4 separate regions of the Homo sapiens genome follow, and regions 2, 3 and 4 are each linked to region 1. Evidence: promoter capture Hi-C in 16 types of primary human blood cells and fetal thymus (Javierre and others, 2016). All regions are on one chromosome and are shown on one strand. Each heading gives the region's core, a stretch centred on a gene start or on the middle of the fragment in contact. The rest is flanking DNA. Distances are from core to core; before and after follow the strand shown. Region 1 holds the start of BMERB1 (bMERB domain containing 1). Region 2 has its middle 16 kb from the start of PDXDC1. Region 3 overlaps MYH11 (myosin heavy chain 11). Region 4 overlaps MYH11 (myosin heavy chain 11).

Region 1 (3,170 bases), core at 152-2,651:
CATTGGGTCTTGAAAGGATGAACTAGAAAGAAAGACCAAGGTTAAAAAGGGAGAAAAAAAAAGAAAAGGAAAGAGGTTGGCAGTGCTATGACATCCATCCTAGCCCATGAACCACTAAGACATTGGATTGTGATTTCAACTTCAACCCGTCAGAATCAGAACACAGTTGAGCCCTTCTAGGAAGATTTTCTAAATCCATAATTACAGGTATAGAGAAAGAAAGCGCGCACACACAATTTTCCACCAGGTGAGGACAGAATAAGATCACATTCACAATACTTTAGCCCTACATCGCTCAGAGATCCGTGCTGGGGCAGAGCGCGGAGCAGTGACCCAGAGCCGAGGCAGGAAGCTGCCGGGTCCCTGAGAAGGACCTCTCCTTCCCAGCCTGGTGGGCAAGCCATGTGAGAGCAGCGGCTTTGGGGAGCCCCCGGGTTTGCAGGGACCTCCAGTGACCCTGGAGCCCCTGACGCTGCCTCTACACTTTGAGGGCAGGAGTTTCAACTATTGTATCCTATTAATGAAAAACAAAATCCTTCGTTTACTTAGAAATGTTGACATCCAAACACCGCAGAGAGAACCAGTAAATAAATACAGCCGGTCTATTTCGAAACTGCCTTCTAGAGTTGTGCCCAAGCAGACTTTAACTGAGTCAAGAGAGAAAAGAGAACGGTGTGTGCCTTTTGACCCTTTTGCCGCCCCAAGCCTCCCACCCCGACCCAAGGAAGGCGAGGGAGGAAAAGCTGGGAATTTCAGGTGCGCTCCGAAACCTCACGCAGGGGGTAGGAAAGCAAGCGGAAAACCAGCAGACACTCCCCCCTCTCCAGGGACGTGGGCGCTTTCCAGGACGGTCCCGCGTCTCCAGCGCCCTGGCGCATCCCAGGCGGAGAGAGGATCCTCCTCCCTGGGCTGTGGGAGAGACCCGACTTCACAGGACCAGCTGCGAGCTGACGGATCCGGGACTCCTAAGTCGAGCCCAGGCTCCTGCCTTAGCTGCCTGGCCATCTCCCAACCCTCCCAGTGAGGCTCAGCCCGGAGGGTCCCCCCCTTTTGTTCGCGGGGAGAGCGCGTCGCTGCGCAGAGCTGCGTATCCCCCTGAGCTGCCAGCCCCGCTGCGGGGGCGCTTCCCTGGGTCCACTGCTGGCGTTCCTCGCGCTCCCGCGACCACCCGCGCAGGCGCATGGATCCCCAGCTGTCCCCGGCCCCCCGCCCCCCGCCCCAGTACTCACTTCTCCCCAGTCTCTCCGTTTTCCAAGCCGTCTCCTCCACCGCCCCATAGCGCCTCAGAGGCTTCTCGGCTTCCAGATGGGTGGACAAAGATTGCTTTAATTCCATCGCTGATCCCCGTGGCCAGGTCGACGGGTCTCCCTTTACTCCATTCCCGTTGCGGGCTGCAGGGAGGGAGGTGGCTCCAGCCAGCAGCGTTTTAACGGGCCGGGCGCCCGTGACGCTGCTCCCTCTCCTCCGCCGCCGCCAGCGCCCGGGAGCGCCTACGGGTACCCAGAAGGGGCAGGGATGCACGGCACATGCGCAGTGGAGGCTTGGAGGGGAGGCTTGGGGGCTGGGTAGGGAGACAGAGGGGCAGGTGATAACTCTAAGAAAAACAACAAACAAAACAACTAAAATAAAAGCAACACAAAGGAAGTGAGAACAAGGCCCCTGCCTATTCTAGAGCCCCTAGTGATGCTTGGCATGGGGCTGGCACTGTGGGCGGCTTGCGAGCTGTAAGCCGGCAGCGGGTTTTGAGTGGGATTGGTGAGCCCGTCTCTACCTGCGGGCGATGCATCCGTCTTTCTGGGGAGCATGCAGAGGCGTGAGTGTGGACCTAGATCTATGGGTTCTGGGCTTGGCTGACTGCTTTTCTGTGAGAATATCTGTCGTGTGCGTCTGTTTAATTTGAAGTGCGACAGTGGATGCCTATGTCAGTTCCATATGTGTTTGCATGCACTTTGGGGAGAGAGAGAGAGAGATGAAAATATTTTGCACACAGGTATAGCAGAGCTGTTTGGAGCATGGGGCTTTACTTTCCAGAAACCCCAGAGGTTTATCTTTAAAAACAAACAAACAAACAAACAAAAAACACCATGGCAGTGCCTGGGCACGATGGCTCATGCCTGTAATCCCAGCACTTTGGGAGGCCGAGGTGGGTGGATCACTTGAGGCCAGGAGTTTGAGACTAGCCTGGCCAACATGGTGAAACCCCATCTTTACTGAAAATACAAAAATTAGCCAGCTGTGATGGCGCAGGCCTGTAATTCCAGCTACTCGGGAGGCTGAGGCAGGAGAATCGCTTGAACCTGGGAGGCAGAGGTTTCAGTCATCCGAGATCATGCCATTGCACTCCAGCCTGGGCAACAAGAGGAAAACTCCGTCTCAAAAAAAGAAAAGAAACGAAAAAAAGAAAATGATATCCCAGTAGGAAACAGGGAAAGAATATGAATAGTCATGTCATGTGGGCAGAGGAGGAAGGCCTAATGTGAGAAGCTGCTCAACCCCCTTAGTAATAAGGAAAATGAAAATGTAAATAAGAATATATCATCCGATAGGCAAAAACTAAAAAATCTAACAATCATGTGTTGTAAAAGATGTGGATTTTTTTTTTGAGACAGAGTCCAAAAATGCTGGGGTTACAGATGTGAGACACCATGCCTGGCATAATTTGAACTTTTATCTAATGCTAGTGGGAGTATAAATTGGTACAACTGTTTTTTTCTCTCTGTCACCCAGGCTGGAGTGCAGTGGCATAGTCTCGGCTCACTGAAACCTCCACCTCCTGGGTTCAAGCTCCTGAGTAGCTGCGACTACAGGCGTGCCACCATGCCCAGCTAATTTTTTGTATTTTTAATGGAGATGTGGTTTCACCATGTTGGCCAGGCTGGTCTCGAACTCCTGAGCTCAAGTGATCTGCCCGCCTTGGTCTCCCAAAGTGCTGAGACTACAGGAATGAGCCACTGTGCCTGGCTGCATGAATGTAATGTTTATTGTTCTCAGGTATATATGTATAACTCTACAAATTATATATAATAGCGCTATTTAACATTTTCTTATAATTTATACAAATGATATCATACTTTATAATTCTGCAAGTTGCTTTTTTCTGTTGTTGTTCCACAATATGCTTTTCTTCCTTTTAAAAAGATAGAGACAGGTTTTCACTGTGTTGCTCAGGC
Region 2 (2,927 bases), core at 428-2,927, 480 kb after region 1:
CAGGAAGGAGGGAAGATTACATATCATTTCCTTGCCAGCCTCTCTCCATTCTCATTTCAGGTGACAAAGAGGAAGGCAGTTGCTTTAGTTTCCTGCTCTGTGTCTGCACATATGAACAAGTCTCAGAGGCAGATGTTGAAGAAACTTCAGTGCTACATTTTTTGAGGGGTTGGCCTTACTGGTTGATTCATCTGCTTCATTGCAAAACAGTCCTTTTGGTCTTAAACATGTTGCGTGTTGGCCGGGCATGGTGGCTCACGCCTGTAATCCCAGCACTTTGAGAGGCCGAGGCAGGCAGATCTCCTGAGGTTAGGAGTTCTAGACCAGCCTGGCCAACATGGCGAAACCCCATCTCTACTAAAAATACGAAAAAATTTAGCCAGGCGTGGTGGCGCATGCCTGTAATCCCAGCTACTCAGGAGGCTGAGGCAAGAGAATCGCTTGAACCCGGGAGGCAAAGGTTGCAGCAAGCTGAGATCGTGCCACTGCACTCCAGCCTGGGTGACAGAGTGGGACTCCATCTCAAATTAATTAATTAATTAATTAATTAATTGTGCATCGTAGTCTTTTGTCAGTAGAAATTTCAGGATTCGCAGAGAAGTTACATTTTAGACATGGTAGCCCCCTTGGTGGTTCTTATGAAACTGGGATTCATTTAAATGAAATAATAATAGCTACAATAAGCTTTACTGTAGTCATCTTAATATATTTTTAATGTGATCCTTAGTTGTAAACAGAAGCTCAGTTCCCACATCAGTACTTATTCCCTGCTGAAAGAGCGCCGAACAAAACCCTTTTTTCATTCGAACACAGCCCTATGTTCTCCATTCATCTCCCACTGTTTGGGGACATTAACGGGACATGAACGCACTGCCTAATTATTGCTGCAGGGCTCTGAGTCACAGCTTCCACGGATGATGAAGCATCAACGTAATGAAGTAATTTATCTTAGAGCATCTCTTCTTGTTTGAAGACCATGGGAGGCCTTTAGCATTTGCTTGAGTAATAGATTGTCTTTAATTCCTGATTTTTTTTTCTATTGCTTCTAAGAAGAGATAAGTATACAGTAATGCATTGGAAATCATCGAAGCCTTCTAAGTCTTCATTTTTCCTTCTTTCATTTCCCATTAAGTAAATCCATTGAGCTGCTCCACAAAGAACACCATGGATATTAGAGGATATTTGCCTCTAGAGATTGCTACCAATCCCTTGCCTCTCTGGGTTCCTAGGAGAACTGACTTGTGCAGAAGGTGCCCAGTAAATGTCAGTTTCATCCCTTTGGCTTTGCCAGATTTAGCAAAATAATTTTTTTCTTTACGTTTTTTAAATTTTTTAATTTTTTTTTTTTTTTCTGAGACGGAATTTCGCTCTTGTTGCCCAGGCTGGAGTGATCCTCCTGCCTTGGCCTCCAGAGTAGCTGGGACTACAGGTGTGCACCACCATGCTCAGGTAATTAAAACAATTTTTTTTTTTTTTTGTAGATATGGAGGTTGTATCAGTCCGTTCTTGCATTGCTATAAAGAACTCCCTGAGACTGGGTAATTTATAAAGAAAAGAGGTTTAATTGACTCACAGTTCCACAGGCTGTGCAGGAGGCATGGCTGGGAGGCCTCAGGAAACTTTGAATCATGGCGGAAGGCAAAGGGGAAGCACGCACATCTTACATAGCTGGAGCAGGAGGAAGGGAGAGAAGGGGGAAGCGCTACATGCTTTTAAACCAACCAGATCTCATAAGAACTCACTCACTATCAGGAGAACAGCAAGGAGGCACTCTCCCCCCATGATCCAATCACCTCCCACCAGGTCCCTCCCCTAACACTGGGGATTATAATTCGGCATGAGATTTGGGCAGGGACCCAAATCCAAACCATAGCAGGGGGGTCTCACTATTTTGCCCAGACTGGTCTTGAACTCTTGGCCTGACAAGCGATCCTCCCGCCTCAGCTTACCAAAGTGCTGTGATTACAGATATGAGCCACCACATCAAGCTAACATAGGGATCGGCACTCTAGCCTGGGCGACAGAGGAGACTACGTCTCAAAACAATTAATTAATTAATTAAAATAAATAACCCCATACTTTCTGCCTCTGTGGCTTTGCCTGTTCTGGGTATTTCGTGTGAACGGACCCATGCATCTGGTGGTCCGGGCTCATTTCAAACGCTCAGCCCCCATGTCGGCCCATGGCCTCCGGATTGGATGGTGTGAGCTGGGTGTGCGCGGGGTGCTCAATCCCTCCGGAGCATCTGGAGTGGCCACGTGCAGGTGCGGGAGGCGGCGGCGGCGCAGGGGGCAGCTGGAGGCCCGGGAAGCCCGGACGTGGTGTAGGGAGCTGCCGACCATGCTGGCTTCTGATCGCGGGCTCCCAAATTCAAGACAGCCCTGGTGACATAGCAAGAGCCTGTCTCTATAAAAAATTAAAAATCAGCCAGGCATGGTGGTGCATGCCTGTGGTCCCAGCTACTCGTGAGGCTGAGGCGGGAGGATCACTTCAGCCTCGGGGTTTGAGGCTGCAGTGAGCTATGACTGTACCACTGCGTTCCAGCCTAGGTGACAGAGTAAGACTTTGTCTAAAAAAAAGAGAGAGAAAGGGAGATGGGAAGATTTATGCTGCTGACTTTGAAGATGTTGGATGGGGAGCCAAGGAGTGCAGGGAGCATCTAGAAGCTTGGAAGAGGCAAGAAAATGAACTCTCCTTTAGGACCTCCAGGAGGAATGCAGTCCTGCAGACCCATTTTAGACTCTGACACCCCAAATTCTAAGACAAGAAGTTTGTGTTCTTTTAAGCCATTAAATTCGTGGTAATTTGTTACCTCAGCCATGGAAAAATGATACAAGGGGGATATAAGTAAAAAGCAAAGAAGGAGATGTTTTGGTGAGCTGGAAGCCTGCCCAGCTGGGAGAAATCTAACAGAAGTTTACTCCGGA
Region 3 (3,154 bases), core at 320-2,819, 300 kb before region 1:
GTGTGTGTATCAGTCAGTCCCCAAGCTCCAATTCCCAAGTATGTGTGTGTATCACTTTTGTGTTAAATTTTAAAAATAAAATTGATCAGATTGGTTTTCAATTGAAGATTCACTTCAAATGAACAAACAATAACAAACTGCCTGCCAGATCACGAATCCTGACTCTAGTGAAACTAGGTCATTGATTCATTCAGTAAACACATAAATGTATTTTGATGCAATCTGTGGTGTTGGCATAGCATGTATCATAGCATATAGCTATGCTAGCTGTGCCAACACCATATACCCTGGGGTTTACTTCCCCCACTTTGGGTTTTGTGCAGTGTCACATGCACATAGAGCACAGCGTTCTGCTCCCTTGCCGCTTGGCCTTTGATACAGAAGAGCCCAGTGCATGGGCCAGGTATGGTGGCTCATGCCTGTAATCCCAGCACTTTGGGAGGCTGAAGCAGACAGATCACCTGAGGTCAGGAGTTCGAGACCAGCCTGGCCAACATCATGAAAACCTGTCTCTACTAAAAAGACAAAAATTAGCCGGGCGTGGTGGTGGGCGTCGGTAATCCCAGCTACTTGGGAGACTGAGGCAGGAGAATCCCTTGAACCTGGGAGGCAGAGGTTGCAGTGAGCTGACATCATTCCACTGTACTCCAGTCTGGACGACGGAGCAAGACTCGATAAGAAAAACAAACAAACAAAACAAAAAACCAGGCTGAGTGCGGTGGCTCACACCTGTAATCCCAGCACTTTGGGAGGCTGAGGCGGGTGGATCACCTGAGGTCAGGAGTTCGAAACCAGCCTGACCAACATGTTGAAACCCCATCTCTACTAAAAATATAAAATTAGCCGGGCGTGGTGGTGGGCACCTGTAATCCCAGCTACTTAGGAGGCCGAGGCAGGAGAATCGCTTGAACCCGGGAGGTGGAGGTTGCAGGGGGCCAAGATTGCGCTGTCGCACTCCAGCCTGGGCAACAGGAGTGAAACTCCATCTCAAAAACAAACAAACAAAACCATGGACTCAAGGTCAAGGTTTAGCTTCTAATTCTGGCTCCATCACACAATGGCTGTGACACCATGGGTAAAACTGCTTACCCTCTCTTAGCCTTAGTTTCCTCATTTGTAAAATGGAAATAATAACACACCTGCCTCTTTGGGTTGCTCTGAGGATTAGATGATGTATATAAAAAACTTAGCTCAGGGCCTGGCATATAGTAACTGCTCATTAAATAAGAGCCAACATTAATATTTAAGCAAAATTTTGCAGTTCACAGACATCCTTTCAATTCTATTACTTTGTGTATTTGTTTGCCAGTCATTACAGATGTCCTAGGCAGGTGATATGCTCCACATTTTGCAGCTGAGGAAATTTTAGGTCCAGAGATGTTAGGTGAATGACCCAAGGTCACACAGCTAGAGAGGGGTGGTGATGAGGACTGCAGCTCTGGGTCCTGGAAGAGCTCTCATTCTTTTGCACGGCACTGAGATGACCCTCTGTCTCCACCCAACTGCCATTCACTGTGTTCCTCCCACCAAGGGCCAAGAGGGAGCAGGAGGTGACGGTGCTGAAGAAGGCCCTGGATGAAGAGACGCGGTCCCATGAGGCTCAGGTCCAGGAGATGAGGCAGAAACACGCACAGGCGGTGGAGGAGCTCACAGAGCAGCTTGAGCAGTTCAAGAGGGTAATGCTTTTTGGTGATGCTTTTTGGTGATGACACATAAGAGTGACATCAGCAGCCTCAAATTACTACAGGTCAGGGTCTGCATAAAGACAAAAAACAAGTTACATAAGATTCTAATGATGATGATAGCAGCTTATATTTATTTACAAAATGCTTCCCATACAGGCTGGGTGAGGTGGCTCACGCCTGTAATCCCAGTACTTGGGGAGGCTGAGGCGGGAGGATCGCTTGAGCTCAGGAGTTGGAGACCAGCCTGGGCAACATAGTGAGACCTTGTTTCTACTAAAATTTTAAAAAAGTAGGCCAGGCGTGGTGGCTCAAGCCTGTAATCCCAGCACTTTGGGAGGCCAAACTGGGTGGATCACCTGAGGTCAGGAGTTCGAGACCAGCCTGGCCAACATGGCGAAACCCTATCTCTACTACAAATACAAAAAATTAGCCGGGCGCGGTGGTGCATGCCTGTAATCCCAGCTACTCGGGAGGCTGAGGCAGGAGAATCACTTGAACCCAGGAGGCAGAGGTTGCAGTGAGCAGAGATCATGCCATTGCACTCCAGCCTGAGCAACAGAGCAGGATTCCATCTCAAAAAAATAAAATAAAATAAAATATTGGCCAGGCCTGGTAGTGCATTCCTGTGGTCCCAGCTATTTGGGAGGCTGAGGTGGGAGGATCGTTTGAGCCTGGGAGGTTGAGGCTGCAGTGAGCCCTGTCATGCCACTGCACTCTAGCCTGGACGACACAGTGAGACCTTAATCAAACAATAAAAATAGGCTGGGCACGGTGGCTCACCATGTCTGTAATCCCAGCAATTTGGGAGGCAAGGCGGGCAAATCACTTGAGCTCAGGAGTTCGAGACCAGCCTGGCCAACATGGTGAAACCCCATCTCTACCAAAAATATAAAGAATTAGCTGGGTGTGGTGGCATGTGCCTGTAATCTTAGCTACTCGGGAGGCTGAGGCAGGACAATCACTTGGACCCAGGAGGAAGAGGTTGCAGTGAGCTCAGATCGTGCTACTGCACTCCAGTCTGGGCGACAGAGTGAGCCGCCATCTCAAAAAAAGAAAAAAAAAAAAGAATGAATAGAAATGCTTCTCATACAGTATGTCAATTAATCTTCACAACCACCCTGTGAGACGTGTACTATTAAACTCATTTTACAAGCAAAGAAACTGAGGTCCTAGGTGCCTAGAGGTGAAGAGACTTACCCAAGGTCACACTGCTGGTAAGTGACAGAGCCATGATTTGCACCCAAACAGTCTGGTCCTAGACCCCACTTTCTGGCCTCTACAGGACTGAAGGCCTATAGGATGGGTGGGGCCTATCAATATACTGCCCTTCAGGGATAAGCAAAGGTGTAACAACACTTTCGGGGAGATTTAAATGAAACTTAAAACTGGGATCATTCTATCCACTTTAATTTCTCTGCAGACTGGAGGAAGGCCAGGCATGGCGGCTCATGCCTCCCGTAATCCTAACA
Region 4 (2,858 bases), core at 98-2,597, 320 kb before region 1:
TCTTTGGAGGGCTTTTTAAAACCCAGATGGCTGGGCCTACCCTAAGATCTAATTCTGCAGGTCTGGGGCCAGGGATGGGGCGGGCCTGAAAACATTCATCCCAGGTGATGCTGCTGGTCTAGGGACCACACTCCGGCTCCCTTTGAGAACCAGTGAATAGATGATCCCTGTGAAGAGCTGCTGGAGTGATGATGAGGGGAGGGGGTTTGCTGTTTGTCCCTGGCCATCAGTGTCCACAGCAGGTTTTATTCTTGGCACAGGGCCCATGGGCCTGGGGCTTACAGGACTGGTCTCCCCTTGTTTTAAGCATGCTAAAAAAAGGGCTCCAGGAGGGGCCAGCTGTGCCCTAACCATATGCCAGGCTCTGGGCCTAGGGAACAACATCGCACCCTGGGTCTGTGTCATCCCAGGACACATGATGAAGCCTGTAGTCCCTCCTCTGCGGGACCCACAGTCTTGTGGGAGAGATGAGACTCTCAAAGACAAGCAGAGAGACAAGCATGAGGCTGCGCATGGTGGCTCACACCTGTAATCTCAGCACTTTGGGAGGCTGAGGCAGGAGGATCAGTTGAGGTCAAGAGTTCGAGACCAGTCTGGCCAACGTGGCGAAACCCCATCTCTACTAAAAATACAAAAACTAACTGGGCGTGGTGGTGGTAATCCCAGCTACTCGGGAGGCTGAGGCAGGAGAACTGCTTGAACCTGGGAGGCGCAGGTTGCAGTGAGCTGAGATTGTGCCATTGGACTCCAGCCTGGGCAAAAGAGCAAGACTCTGTCTTGAAAAAATAAAACTAAAAATAAAAAATAAAAACAAAATTAGCCGGGTGTGCTGGTGGGTGCCTGTAATCCCAGCTACTCAGGAGGCTAAGGCAGGAGAATCACCTGAACCTGGGTGGTGAAGGTTGCAGTGAGCCAAGATCGTGCCACTGCTCTCCAGCTGGGCGACAGAGTGAGAGCTTGTCTCAAAAAAAAAAAAAAAAAAAAAAGATTGTTACACAGAATCTGAGTAGAAGGTGAAGAAATGGTGCCATCCATGGCCTGTGGGTTGGGCTTGGCATGTGCAGGACCTGCTGGGCTGGTAGAAAAAGAACCTTGGAGGTGATGATGATGATGATGATGATGATGATGATGATGGCCGGGCGCGGTAGCTCACGCCTGTAATCCCAGCACATTGGGAGGCCAAGGCAGGGGAATCACCTGAGGTCAGGAGTTCGAGACCAGCCTGACCAACATGGAGAAACTCTGTCTCTACTAAAAATATAAAAAAAATGAGCCGGGCGTGGTGGCGCATGCCTGTAATCCCAGCTACTGGGAGGCTGAGGCGGGAGAATTGCTGGAACCCGGGAGGCGGACGTTGTGGTGAGCCGAGATCACGCCATTGCACTCCAGCCTGGCCAACAAGAGTGAAACTCCGTCTCAATAAAATAAAATAATGATAATAATAATAATAATAATAATAATAATAATAATAATAATACCTACTTTTTGTTGAGCACTTACTGATGTGCCAGGCTATCTCGGAGTGTGTGCTGTATCTTCTGCCTCAGAATATTTCTTCCGTGGATACCTACATGGTTACCCACTCATTTCTTGCTGGTTTCTGCTCAAATATCAACTTAGCAGAGCCCACCACCTCCTTGTCTAAGAGAGCACCCTCTTCACTCTCTCTCCGCTTTACCCTATTTTTATTTTTCTACGCACACCTCACTACTCAAGATATTCCATACTTAACATCTGTGATCTCTGTCTGTCTCCTTCCCTGTGATATAAGCGGGGTGAGGGGGCCGGGTCTTTTTTTGTTCACAGCAGTGTCCCCAGGGCCTGGAGCACAGAAGGTCCTCAATAACTATTTGTTGGTGGATGAAAGATTGGAGGCTGGCAGGGAATAAGTGCCTTCTGTGCCTTATTTTTTTTTACCCCTGCCCTAGAAGGTAGACGGTATTATTACCTCCCTTTTGTAGAAAGGGAGACTGAGGCACAGGATAGTGCCAAGCCAAGGCTAGTCAGTGAGTGGACAGCGAGAGCAGGCTTGACTCCTAGGTCAGCGTGACTCCATCACAGGGAATTTGTTCTTTCTGCCACTCAGGTGCTCTCAGGATTTCCCCAATAGACAATACTTGGAAACCCTGACTGCCGAAGGAGGCGTTGGTGATGGAAGGAAAGATTGGAGTGGGCAGGTTGGTGGGTGGGGCTGGGGCTGAGCCTCTGGCCTATTTAGGGGTGGGTGGGCCAGAGGCTGATGCCACCCTGGCTGTGCCCCATAGTGGACCGCATCGTGGGCCTGGACCAGATGGCCAAGATGACGGAGAGCTCGCTGCCCAGCGCCTCCAAGACCAAGAAGGGCATGTTCCGCACAGTGGGGCAGCTGTACAAGGAGCAGCTGGGCAAGCTGATGACCACGCTACGCAACACCACGCCCAACTTCGTGCGCTGCATCATCCCCAACCACGAGAAGAGGGTGAGGCCCGCCGCCCAGACCCTGGGGCTCCCAGAAGCCAGGGCTGTCCCAAGCGGTCACAGCGTCCCCAGGGCGCCCTCTGCCCCCACCTACCCCGAGGACCCCATTTTCCATGTGGGGAAGGCTATCTGAATCTCAGACCCATTCCCCATCCCTGGAGGAAAAGGAGGAAGGGAGGATGCATCCAGAGACTTTTCAGTTGTGGAGTTGCTGTGCAGGTCATCCAGCCACTCATTCATTCATTATCCCAGGAAGTATTCACTGGGCTCTGCCCTGTCCTGGGTGCTGGGGAGCAGTGTTAGAAAAATTGTAGCCCTTCCCTGTGGGTTTCTCATAATCTGGTGCAGGCATCTTCAGCTTGGGGCGATTGTGTCCTCTATATGGACATGCTACAGACATT

What was found. Contacts are between HindIII fragments. The CHiCAGO score rates a contact against its expected background, and 5 or more counts as called.
Region 2: a fragment that was not itself captured here is called in contact with the fragment with the promoter of BMERB1 in region 1 in 1 of 17 cell types (M1 macrophages); the score reaches 6.8 in M1 macrophages.
Region 3: a fragment that was not itself captured here is called in contact with the fragment with the promoter of BMERB1 in region 1 in 2 of 17 cell types (neutrophils and M0 macrophages); the score reaches 6.2 in neutrophils.
Region 4: a contact is called between a fragment that was not itself captured here and the fragment with the promoter of BMERB1 in region 1, in 2 of 17 cell types (neutrophils and M2 macrophages). The highest score is 6.9, in neutrophils.

Annotation. Positions count from the first base shown.
Region 1 is chr16:15,432,819-15,435,988 of GRCh38, reverse strand. It overlaps BMERB1 (bMERB domain containing 1), which reads right to left and starts at 1,401. Exons shown (of 6, transcript NM_033201.3): 1 at 1,230-1,401. The coding sequence starts at 1,335. The region is part of intron 1 of MPV17L-BMERB1 (MPV17L-BMERB1 readthrough); the gene reads right to left. RefSeq lists an enhancer at 475-1,097. The HindIII fragment of the contact is 15,111 bases long and covers 1-3,170 here.
Region 2 is chr16:14,957,124-14,960,050 of GRCh38, reverse strand. No RefSeq gene overlaps it. Among named protein-coding and RNA genes, the nearest start is that of PDXDC1, 16 kb to the left of the region's middle. The HindIII fragment of the contact is 1,982 bases long and covers 687-2,668 here.
Region 3 is chr16:15,731,086-15,734,239 of GRCh38, reverse strand. It overlaps MYH11 (myosin heavy chain 11), which reads left to right. Exons shown (of 41, transcript NM_002474.3): 27 at 1,532-1,676. Among named protein-coding and RNA genes, the nearest start is that of NDE1, 82 kb to the right of the region's middle. The HindIII fragment of the contact is 3,974 bases long and covers 1-3,154 here.
Region 4 is chr16:15,749,738-15,752,595 of GRCh38, reverse strand. MYH11 (myosin heavy chain 11) reads left to right here. Exons shown (of 41, transcript NM_002474.3): 16 at 2,265-2,458. Among named protein-coding and RNA genes, the nearest start is that of NDE1, 100 kb to the right of the region's middle. The HindIII fragment of the contact is 3,541 bases long and covers 1-2,858 here.